Regions from separate parts of the Homo sapiens genome. Here regions 2 and 3 are each linked to region 1. The links are contacts of gene promoters, found by promoter capture Hi-C in human tissues and cell types (Jung and others, 2019). All regions are on one chromosome and are shown on one strand. Each heading gives the region's core, a stretch centred on a gene start or on the middle of the fragment in contact. The rest is flanking DNA. Distances are from core to core; before and after follow the strand shown. Region 1 holds the start of DNAJB14 (DnaJ heat shock protein family (Hsp40) member B14). Region 2 overlaps TSPAN5 (tetraspanin 5). Region 3 overlaps PPP3CA (protein phosphatase 3 catalytic subunit alpha).

What was found. The method cuts DNA at HindIII sites, captures the fragments that hold promoters and counts their contacts. A contact is called where the count stands out against the background at its distance.
Region 2: a contact is called between a fragment that was not itself captured here and the fragment with the promoter of DNAJB14 in region 1, in 1 of the 25 tissues and cell types used here (aorta).
Region 3: a fragment that was not itself captured here is called in contact with the fragment with the promoter of DNAJB14 in region 1 in 1 of the 25 tissues and cell types used here (dorsolateral prefrontal cortex).

Annotation. Positions count from the first base shown.
Region 1 is chr4:99,944,812-99,948,279 of GRCh38, reverse strand. It overlaps DNAJB14 (DnaJ heat shock protein family (Hsp40) member B14), which reads left to right and starts at 1,662. Exons shown (of 8, transcript NM_001031723.4): 1 at 1,662-1,841. The coding sequence starts at 1,709. It overlaps H2AZ1 (H2A.Z variant histone 1), which reads left to right. Exons shown (of 5, transcript NM_002106.4): 5 at 1-192. RefSeq lists a silencer at 1,399-2,058 and an enhancer at 2,229-2,278. The HindIII fragment of the contact is 13,922 bases long and covers 1-3,468 here.
Region 2 is chr4:98,564,283-98,567,750 of GRCh38, reverse strand. The region is part of intron 1 of TSPAN5 (tetraspanin 5); the gene reads left to right. Among named protein-coding and RNA genes, the nearest start is that of TSPAN5, 93 kb to the left of the region's middle. The HindIII fragment of the contact is 6,619 bases long and covers 1-3,468 here.
Region 3 is chr4:101,036,474-101,039,941 of GRCh38, reverse strand. All of the region lies in intron 11 of PPP3CA (protein phosphatase 3 catalytic subunit alpha), which reads left to right. Among named protein-coding and RNA genes, the nearest start is that of LINC01218, 160 kb to the right of the region's middle. The HindIII fragment of the contact is 3,728 bases long and covers 40-3,468 here.

The DNA of each region.
Region 1 (3,468 bases), core at 413-2,912:
CCATATTTAAGTGTTACTGTGGCTTCAAAGAAGCTATTGATTCTGAAGTAGTGGGTTTTGATTGAGTTGACTGTTTTTAAAAAACTGTTTGGATTTTAATTGTGATGCAGAAGTTATAGTAACAAACATTTGGTTTTGTACAGACATTATTTCCACTCTGGTGGATAAGTTCAATAAAGGTCATATCCCAAACTAGTTGTGTATTAAATTTGCTTGGTTGTAATAGGAACTTGTTTTGAGTATCTCATCTAGCAGCAATAACTAAGCACATTTCTTTGTGACTGAACTGTCAAATCTGTAGATCAACAAAGTGAGATAGCCCAAGTATATTTTTTTAATGTTATATGAGCTACTAAAGTTTTAATTTAAAAAGTTGGCAGGAGCTGGAGTGGGATTGTCAGTTTCTTAGGCTAAGTGTGACCATTTCAGTTTGTACATTGGCTTCGCTTGCTGTGTGACAGCACTGCACTAGTATGCTGTTAGCATGGTGGACTTGGGGAGGGAGAGAATAGGTAGGAATGTCCTGTATATCCACAGAATGAACTCCGAATTTAAACTTTAAAGATAATAGTGCTACGTGCCAGGCCCTGCTTTGAAGTCTGAAGTTGTTAAGTACTCAGTAACATCATTGGGGATATACTATCTCCATTTTATCGAAGAGAAGCAGGGTTTCTTATTTGAAAGTACCGAGTTATGGTAGTTAGCAGAATTAACAGCTTGGCTCACAGCATTATGTAAAAATTGTTACCTTGTGGTTGGGTTGAGCAGGTCATTTTGACAGTTTGTCATGTTTTTTTTTAAAAAATTTGCACATAGCAAACATTCCCCCCACCCCCACCGCGAAGACTAACAAGACACGGTACTTCCAAGTGGTAATGTTATCCAAATGGGACGGAAAAGGTGAAATCAAAAGTTTGCTTTCGTTAGGGCAGCCCCTGAGGGGCTGATTCCTGCCTTGTTTTGGCTACACAGGATTAAGGTCGATCTGCACCACTCGTTGCAAGCTACAAATTAAACTGCTTTGTACTTTGGATAGCCAGACATCCGGGTCAGAAAAAATGTAGCTGAAATAAGGCTGCCATACAAGCCCTAAGATTAGGTTCAAACGACGCTCTAACGTGTCCCGGAAGTGCTGAGACTGGACTGACACCTTGGTCCTCACCTGACCGCATCCTCCCTCGCTTGAGGGGCCCAGAGGCGGAACCTCCAAGTCCTGGCAATTTTACTGAAAACGAGTGTCCCCTTCCCGGACCCTGTCCTCCTGGCCTGAGCTGCGAGGGCCTCGCCTGGAGGTCACAGGGCACGGCGCTACCAATGCCGGCAATCGGGTCCCGGGCGGAACCCCTCCCCGCGATGGGCAGCCCGGCTGCTATCGTCCGCCTCCCGGGCAGGTCCGCTTCGAGCCTGCTGGCGCCGTGCGCGGACCACCGAGTCAGCTCGGACGCCCCGGCCCAGGAGGTTGGTCCTGGGCCGGGACGGATGCGGATCGCGCCCTAGGGGCCCGCGGGGGGCGGGGAGGCCGCCGTGAGGAGGCGGAGCTGCGAGGCCCGCCCGTCCGCCCGGGCCGTCGCAGCCGCTGCCGCGGTCCCCTGCGCTCCTCCCCGCTGCCGCCGCACGCCCCCAGCCGGTCCCGCCTCGCCTCCTCCGCGGCGGCGGCTTCCGCCCTTCTTAGCTGCGCTGCCGGAGGAAACGGAAGAAGGAGCAAGCTATGGAGGGGAACAGGGATGAGGCTGAGAAATGTGTCGAGATCGCCCGGGAGGCCCTGAACGCCGGCAACCGCGAGAAGGCCCAGCGCTTCCTGCAGAAGGCCGAGAAGCTCTACCCACTGCCCTCGGCCCGCGGTGAGACCTCAGCGTCCCTTCTCTTCCTGCCCAATCCCCAGACCACCGCGTAGCCCGCCCCTGCCCCCACCTCGGCCCCTCCTGGAGGCCTGCGGGGCCCCCGGCCTGTCTGAGCCAGCCCCAGCCCCAGGCCCGGTGGGGAGCATCCCGACACACCCCCGCCCTGGCCCCAGCCCCGGCTCCGGGCTGGGGCTCGGGGAATGCTGCGCGAGGTTCCTCTGCACCCGCCTGCCCGCCGGCTCCGCGTTCCGCTGTCCTAAATGTCCGGGTTTCATTCTCCCTGGAGGAGACTTGTCTGGTCCCGTCTTACCACAGTGAGGCTTTATTTGTATCTGTGTTGTTTATGTGGCCCCCTCCCTCCCCATTCTCAGTCCTACATAAGGCCTAGGCCCCTATCGAAGTGAGAGGAATGGTGTACTCTAGTGGCTAATCTCAGATTCCATGTTTCTGAGATCTGTAGAAAACTGTTCCCAAAGCAAACATCGAATACCTGAGATGACATTGCTTTTCCCTGGGAGAGAGTTCCTTTAAAAGAGAAGAGCACACTTTCGGCAAGAATGGTCAAGAGTCAGTAATGATTGCTGAAGAGTATCTGATTTGATAACACCATGATTATCGACGAACCAAATCTCTGAGGAATATGGTACTGGGTTTCCTTTAGTTGAAGTCAGCTTATTTATTTTCCTACTCGATAGGCTTCGGAGTAATAATAGCCAACATTTATTGAGCACAAAGTGCCAATAGTTGTGCCCAACATTTTGCATGGATTATTTCATTTATTCCTCAGAACAATTCTGTGTAGAGGTGCAGGATTCATTTGACCAGGTTTACCCACGTGGAAACAGACTTTCTGATAATTAATGAATGAATTAGCGAATGAATGAAAGTATCTTACCCAAGGTCACACAACAATTAGTAGCAAAGTCAGAATAGTAGCTGAACTTTCAGACTCGAAAAGGCCTTTAACCGCTACACTGTTGCCTTGCCATTAGTATTTCCAGGTTAAGAAGAAAGTTATCGATAGATTCAATTAATTGTAGAAAATTATTAATGAAAATATGGGGCCACTTGTTTTGTTGTCTCTTAAATTTTTTTCTCTACGTCGTTGAAGCCCTGTGCTCTTTGCTTTTCTCTCTATCCTTTCCATTACATTGCCTTCTAACACTATACCCATGAGGACAGGAAAATAAAATGAAAGAAAAGAGTTAATAATTTTTTAAGTTGTGGTTTAAAAACCTGCCAAATTTACGGTCTTAACTATTTTTAAGTGTGCAGTCCATTAGTGAAGTATATTGACATTGTTGTGCAAGGACTCTTCAGAACTTTTTCATCTTACAACACAACTGTGTACTAATCAGACAGCTCCCTACCGCCCCGTCTCCTAAGACCCTGGCAACTACCATTCTACTTTGTGTTTCTGTGAATTTAACTACTTTAGTTACCTCAGATAGGTAGATTCATGCAGTATCTTTTTGTGACTGTCTTACTTCACTTAGCATAATGTTCCCAAGTTTCATTTATGTTGTAACGTGAAGAATTCCTCTTTAAAAAAATACTGATTAGGCTGGGCGCGGTGGCTCACGCCTGTTATCCCAGCACTTTGGGAGGCCGAGGCGGGCGGATCATT
Region 2 (3,468 bases), core at 589-3,088, 1.4 Mb after region 1:
CCAAAGTCCTCCCTGCCTTTCCAGGCCCCTTTCAGGTTTCCTCTCTCTCCTTTTGTGTCTAGCCCTCATTGCTCACCATCATCTTCTCTGACCTCCTGTGGTACTTGAGGACATACTGGAGGCAGACCCATCTGCGATTACATCCCAACCGTGCTGTGTTGCTTTGAACAAGGCAGCCACATCTCCGAACCACTGAAAAAAGGCATAATAATGATAGCTGGATCCTGGGATTTCTGGATTCTGTAAAACCAATTGTGTAAAAGTTCTTTGTAAATGGTTAGATGTGCCTGGTTTCTTCAGTAATCAGTTATTTTTGAAATTATTTTTAATTTGTCCCATAGTAAGGAATATATTTTAATGTTGTGATGGGCACATACATTTTAATTAAGAGTTCCACAGGAACATTTTCTTCTTTTTTTGTGTGTGTTAAAAACAGTGTTTATTTTGACCCATTTAATTGATTTTGACTATCCACTGTAGGAGGCTACCCACAATTTGGAAGGAACCATCGGGCCTAGATGACAATAAACCCTTTGAGGGCAGGGAATGTATTTTGCACTTCTGCGTCCTCATAGGCCCAACAGGTTACGAGAAGATCCAGTCTGTTGATGGATTTTGTGCTGGGAGTAGGCAGGATGGAGAGACTTATTCAAATTTCAAATTATTTATTGAGTGCCCCTTTGCAAGAATTGGCCAGTTAAACCCTGGGGGGCAGCTTTGTAGCTGCACTACTCGGGAGCCTGCACCCTCTTGAAGACATCATGCCAGCGTCTCCTGCACTTGGCCGTGTAGGCTGCAGCACAGCTGTTTCTGCTACAATCAGCTCCAGTATTTGTATTCCTCCTCTTGAGGCCGAGGCTTGTTCGTTGGCCCCAGGGAATGTGTTGTGTTGGGGTTTGAATCTCCTGTCCTGCGTGCGGTGCCCCTGCCAAGGGCTGTGCACCCACCTGTCCCAGATGGGTCTTGCGTCATGTTTTCCCTGCTATGCTGGTGGTGACAGCATCCTGCTGTCTCAGAGTAAAGCTCAGCTGCATATATGCCACCCGCCCTCCTCCACAGCATCCAGGCTTCCAGTGTAAAAGCCTCTTACAACATCAGGCGGGAGAAAACAAGCCTGCCGCTTGTGGTGCCTTAGCACCAATTTGTCACCCACTTCACTCAGCCCTGGCCCCCTGCTTCTCCTCTGTATGGTATCTTTTTTTCCCATGGCTGCTCCAGCTGGGCTCTGGCCTGACACTGGAATCACATGTTTTGGCTCTAGCCTTTGGTATTATTCTCGAGGTTGTCAGCATACATCCCCACTGCCATCTTTTTCTAATGCAAAGGTCTTTTCATTAATGGATATTTTTTCCTGTGAGACTTGTTTAGGGGAGAGATGCATCCCTCATTTCCCCACCCCCACCCGCCATAAGGTTTTTACAAGCCAAGCTAGAGATTGCTTTCCAGCCACTTTCAGAAAAATGCTGGGGCTCCACTTTGTGTTTAGCACAATCAGCACACATAATTCTTGTTCTGCTTGGGCTCTGTTCAATGTCACTTGCTCCTCCTGACCCTAGAAAGAGTTGAGAATTATAAGCACGGATTATAAGGACTCATAATCTCAGTTGCCAGAGTAAGGGAAATAACGTTTTCACCGGTTCCCTGAAATAGACCTGGCGGACAGCTGTTGCCTCCCCTCCCCTTTCCTCTCATTTCCCCTGGAGATGTACTCTGCCTGTTTCTTCTCCTCGCTAAAACTAAGGAACTTTCCCTTGTGTTTTCTTTTGGCTTCTAGATTGTTCACTTGGCTTTTTATCTAAGCTTGTATTAAATTGCTTCATGATCTGTGCCTGCAGAGGCTTTGGCATAACATGGCTCACAGAGAAGTGTTGTTTGTTGTGGTTGGACCACTTTGTTGCAGCAGCATCTGTTCTTGTCTGAATGGGGCATGCAGGTGAAGCATGTACTCTAGGCCACTGAAAAAGGAGGGAACACAGGCACCTGGACTGACCATTGGCAGCTGTGATCTACTTATGTGACTCTCAGACAGCCTCTCAGCTGCTTGTGATAAAGGCTACAAAATTCCAGGCAGCTTTTTGGTCCCCATAACAAGTATATATAACTCCTACTTTAAGCAGTCCAAATTTAATACAGAGCAATGGGATGAGATGTATGTAGGTGGTGTCACATCCACAAGAATATCTTTAATCATTATTCTTTTCAGCAATTCAGTTTCAAGAGGAATAAGTGAATTTAGGAAATTTGTATATGGGAAAACATTGTCAATCAGTAAATGCGTGGTCTACTGTGTATATTTTCTCCTCAGTTCTTTAAGGCCCCCAAAATGGGATGAAAATTTGCTCAAAAGCTCTCATGCAAAATTATAAGAATATGGAGATATATTAGGAAATGGACAGATAAATATGCTTTCAAGAATCTTATTAAAGTGCTCAACAGTTATATGAAACATGCAAGTATAAGTTGAAAATTTAACTGACATGTGGACATTGAATGTTTCTGTGATTTTAATGAAAAAAAATTCAAGGAACAAGGGGGAAAAACACCAACCGTCAAAAGGAAAAATGCCCTCTATCTACTCATGCAAATAGTCCCCTTGTTCATAGCAGTCACAAAGGATATGACGAGCCATATTGTGCAGGATCCAAGGTTCATGAGAAGTAGGTTTGTAGGTGGCAGGTAGTGGGAAAGTGATTTATGTCCCATGAAAACCCATTCAGCTGTTGTAGCACTTCCAGGGCCTGTGACGTGTGAGGGAGCCATTGTCTTAACACTCAGGGTGAGGACAAAAAGGCTTCAGTTGCTGAAAGGTGCTGGTTTGAGATGGTGATATCCTGTCTCTTTTTCCAGCAGAAGCAGGAACATGATGTCTAGGGTTTTTAAAAGAAAAAGCTTTTGTTCTTTTTTATTTAGTGACAGTAGAAATTAAAGTAGGGCCTTAAAAATTAGAAACACACGTGAACCCCAGGGGGCGAAGCCTGCAGTGAGCCGAGATCATGCCACTGCACTCCAGCCTGGGTGACAGCAAGACTCCATCTCAAAAAAGAAAAAAAAAAAAAAATTTAGAAACACAGTCAATTTTAATGTCAAGACCCAAGCCTCAGCAGTTAAATCGGATGCCTCCTTAAAAAATGTGTGAAAGTTATTTACCCTCATTTCAATTTGGGGCAACAAATGAATGGCTACTTAGGTTAGGTGTGGGAAGCATTAATTAATAATGGGATAAAAGGACTCAGTGAGATTAACTTAGATCACCTATATTTAGCTTCTGATTTTACTTCATTCTGTTTGCTTCTTTCATTAATCTAAATTAACTGCCAGAATTGCATTTATTAGTATGTAGGAGAACAATAATCAAGAAGTGTTTTTATTTATATTCGTAGGAGGCTATGTTGTTATTCATGTGATTCTTAGAAAATAATGGATTTTACACAGGAAAAGATGTTTATACTTTTCAAAGATCTTACTCAT
Region 3 (3,468 bases), core at 654-3,153, 1.1 Mb before region 1:
AAATATTTTCTTGAAGGAAACTCCAGTTATTTCTAAATAATACAATGTAACATTTCTCTTCAAAAGATTACTTTAAAATATGATATATTTATATGTAAGGAGTCTACAGTCAATTCAAAATGATACATATTAGCGAGTAAATAGGAACACCTTGGGAAATATTACATCTACAATTGGATAATTTAATAATCAAATTTTTTGCCAAATTTTTGCCCCAACTCTTTCTCATAGAGTATCGACACTGGCTCTTTTGATTTCTCCTCTTGCTATTTCTATCCTCTTCCTGGTACAGTCACTAAAGAGTAACTGAATGACTTAATGCCAAAAGAGGTAGCCATGAGAAGGATGAAAAGCATTATCATGCTCTCTCAGAGACACCACATCAAAGGCAGTGAGAACTCTGTGGTAGCCAGCACATTCACGACCAGCCATGTTCAAGCGGAAAATAGGGCATCATTGCTCCCTTCCGTTATTGAATGAGGCTACCTTTGCTCTATTGCTGTACGTTTCCAACTACATTTTCAGGGCTTATTCATTCATGCCATAAGTAAATATAGTGAAACTTAAAGCATTGATTATGTACCATGGAGAAAAGAAATAAGGCAATGTAGAGATGGAGCAAGTGGGAGATAAAGAACTTCTTTTAGTGTGTGGTCAACAAAAAACTTTCTGAGTAATGGTATTTGGGCAAGCATAGGTGACCTTCATGAAGAAATGAGGTAAGGGAGTTCAAGGCAAAGACAATAGCAAGTGCAAAGATACTTAAGTAAAGACAAAACTGGCAGTTTTGAGGACCACAAGGAGGCCTGTATGGCTAGAAAAATGTTCTGTGGGGACAAAGGCGTATATGAAGGTCATAAGCTTAATTGGAATTCTGAGTAAACACTTGTTTATTTATTGTGCCTCAGATTTACCAATAATGCTTTTATTTCTTATTCTGTCTGAAGTCTCTGAGGGAAAGTAAAAACAGCTCTAGAATTTCCATGACTATCCCGTGATAAATGGACTATTTGAACCCAGTGATGAGTGACTTGACTTAAAATTGCACATGTTAATAGAAAATAAAAGCAAGCTCTATATTATTGTTTTTCTATAATAAAAGCATCCATAACACATATGCAGAATATAGAGAGATCCTATCCAGAAAAAAGTAAGTTAAGCTTAGTAAATAATGATTGAGCATTAACTGTATACCATGCACTGAATTAGGCAATCTAGATACCAAATTGGAATGCCAGCCAGATAGACAATAAACTAACAAAAGAAAATAAAGTGGCCGGGCGTGGTGGCTCACGCCTGTAATCCCAGCACTTTGGGAGGCCGAGGTAGGCAGATCACAAGGTCAGAAGTTCGAGACCAGCCTGAGCAACATGGAGAAACCCTGTCTCTACTAAAAATACGAAAATTAGCCGGGCATGGTGACACGTGCCTGTAATCCCAGCTACTCAGGAGGCTGAGGCAGGAGAATCTCTCAAACCCAGGAGGCGGAGGTTGCAGTAAGCCGAGATCGCGCCACTGCACTCCAGCCTGGGTGACAGAGCAAGACTCCATCTCAAAAAAAAAAAAAGAAAAAAAAAGTGTGTGCTAAATAACTACATGAATAGATACCCTGCTGTGGCATTAGACAGGAAGGAACCTTGTGTTTCCTGACTGGAGTGTTCATAAAGAGGTTAAAATTGGAGGAGTGCTGTGAAGGATAGGCTGGATTCCAGGGCAGGGAGAGATGTGGTGAAGGCATTCCTGGAAGTGGAAAAATTATCAGGAGCACAGCCACACAATCCTAAGAGCACTATCAATGGCATCCTTTTATGGGGCACTTGCTAAGTGCCAGGTTCATGCCCCATGTTATGCACATTTGACAATCATCGACACAGGAAGCTTGCAAGGTTGTGGTGACTTCACTTTGCTGTGAGGAAATTGAATCTGAGAGAGGCTAAGCAGAGTGTCCAAACTCCCTCAGTTGGGGAGCAACACTAATGAGAGTCTTACTCAAAACTGTGCTATGTAGTCTAGTATAAATTCTTAGCAATACTAGTAGTCTAGTAATGAATTCTAAATGTATTAAAGGACTGACTAGCAAAAGACATGAAGGTGAGTGAGGAATCTAGTTTAAAAGGAGACTGAAAATATACTGAAGTCCATATCCTTGAGTGTTTTGAATAGCATGTTAAAACATTTAATTTTTGTGTGTGTAGGCAATCAGGAGTTGTAGAATTATTTTCGTGAGATTAGAGGCATGCTCTAACCCATGTTTCACTATACATGTTAATTGCAACGTGAAGATTGGCTAGCAAGGTGACGTATGGATAATGAAAAAAGTGAATAAATATAAAATAAAATGTAAATTAAAAAAAAAAACCATTTAGGAAGCTTTTGAAGTAATCCCAGCAAAAGGCTGGACCAGGCTATGGGGAGAGAAGTGCAAAGGAAAGGACAAATACAAGGAATTTGGGAAAACAGGACGTGATTAATGAATGTGGAATGTGGTACAAATTTGTCAGGTATACTTGCCCAACATGTTTCTTACGTTTTGGAAATGTGCAACCTTATAAGGGAACCAGAAAACTGTCTTTCAGCAGTCCTTGCAGATAAAATACAAGTCTGTTGCCTAGGGTTTGCCAGTCAGATAAATGCATGTAAGCAAGGCTTTGTTTCAAATTGAGCATCATGAGGAAGCAGCAAGGCAGGACAACAATTGTCCTGTCAGGTGTGGAATCTCATGGGCCAGCAGTGGAAGAGCTTCCACCTCAGCATTTTGGGAGCTAACTACACAGCATTAGTATGAGCTCTGGCATTGGCTGTGAACATCAGTGGCAAGCCTTTCATGGAGCCCACCCCACAGTATGAACAAGTACTGTTACCCTTCCCAGCTACAGAGCATCGAAGCCCAGTTCTCTGGATCTGTGAGCTCTCTAATACCTTTAATATATCTCTTTCCTGTTAAAATTAGCCAGAATAGATTTCCGGTGTTGGCTGTGAGAACCCTTACCTATATGAGAGGCTACAAGAGAGAGGAAGTATTCCAGAATATTCTACAGGGGTTCCAGTCTATGCCATTGATAGGATGCCATTGTCTAAAGAAGAGGAAGTACTTTTCAATTTAAATACCTAACAGGTATTTATCGGGAAGAGTAGGATGCACTGAATTTGGCAGAGCATTTATGTAGAGGCACTTAGAAATTCTGCCCTGGAGGTTCAGAGAGAGGCGAGGGTTAGAAATGTGGACATAAGGCTGGGTGCGGTGGCTCACGCCTGTAATCCCAACACTTTGGGAGGCCAAGGCGGGTGGATCATGAGGTCAGGAGATCGAGACCATCCTGGCTAACATGGTGAAACCCCATCTCTACTGAAAATACAAAAAAATTAGCTGGGCGTGGTGGCAGGTGCCTGTAGTCCCAGCTACTCAGGAGGCTGAGGCAGGAGACTGCCATAAACCCCGGAGGCGGGGCTTGCAGTGAGCCGAGATTG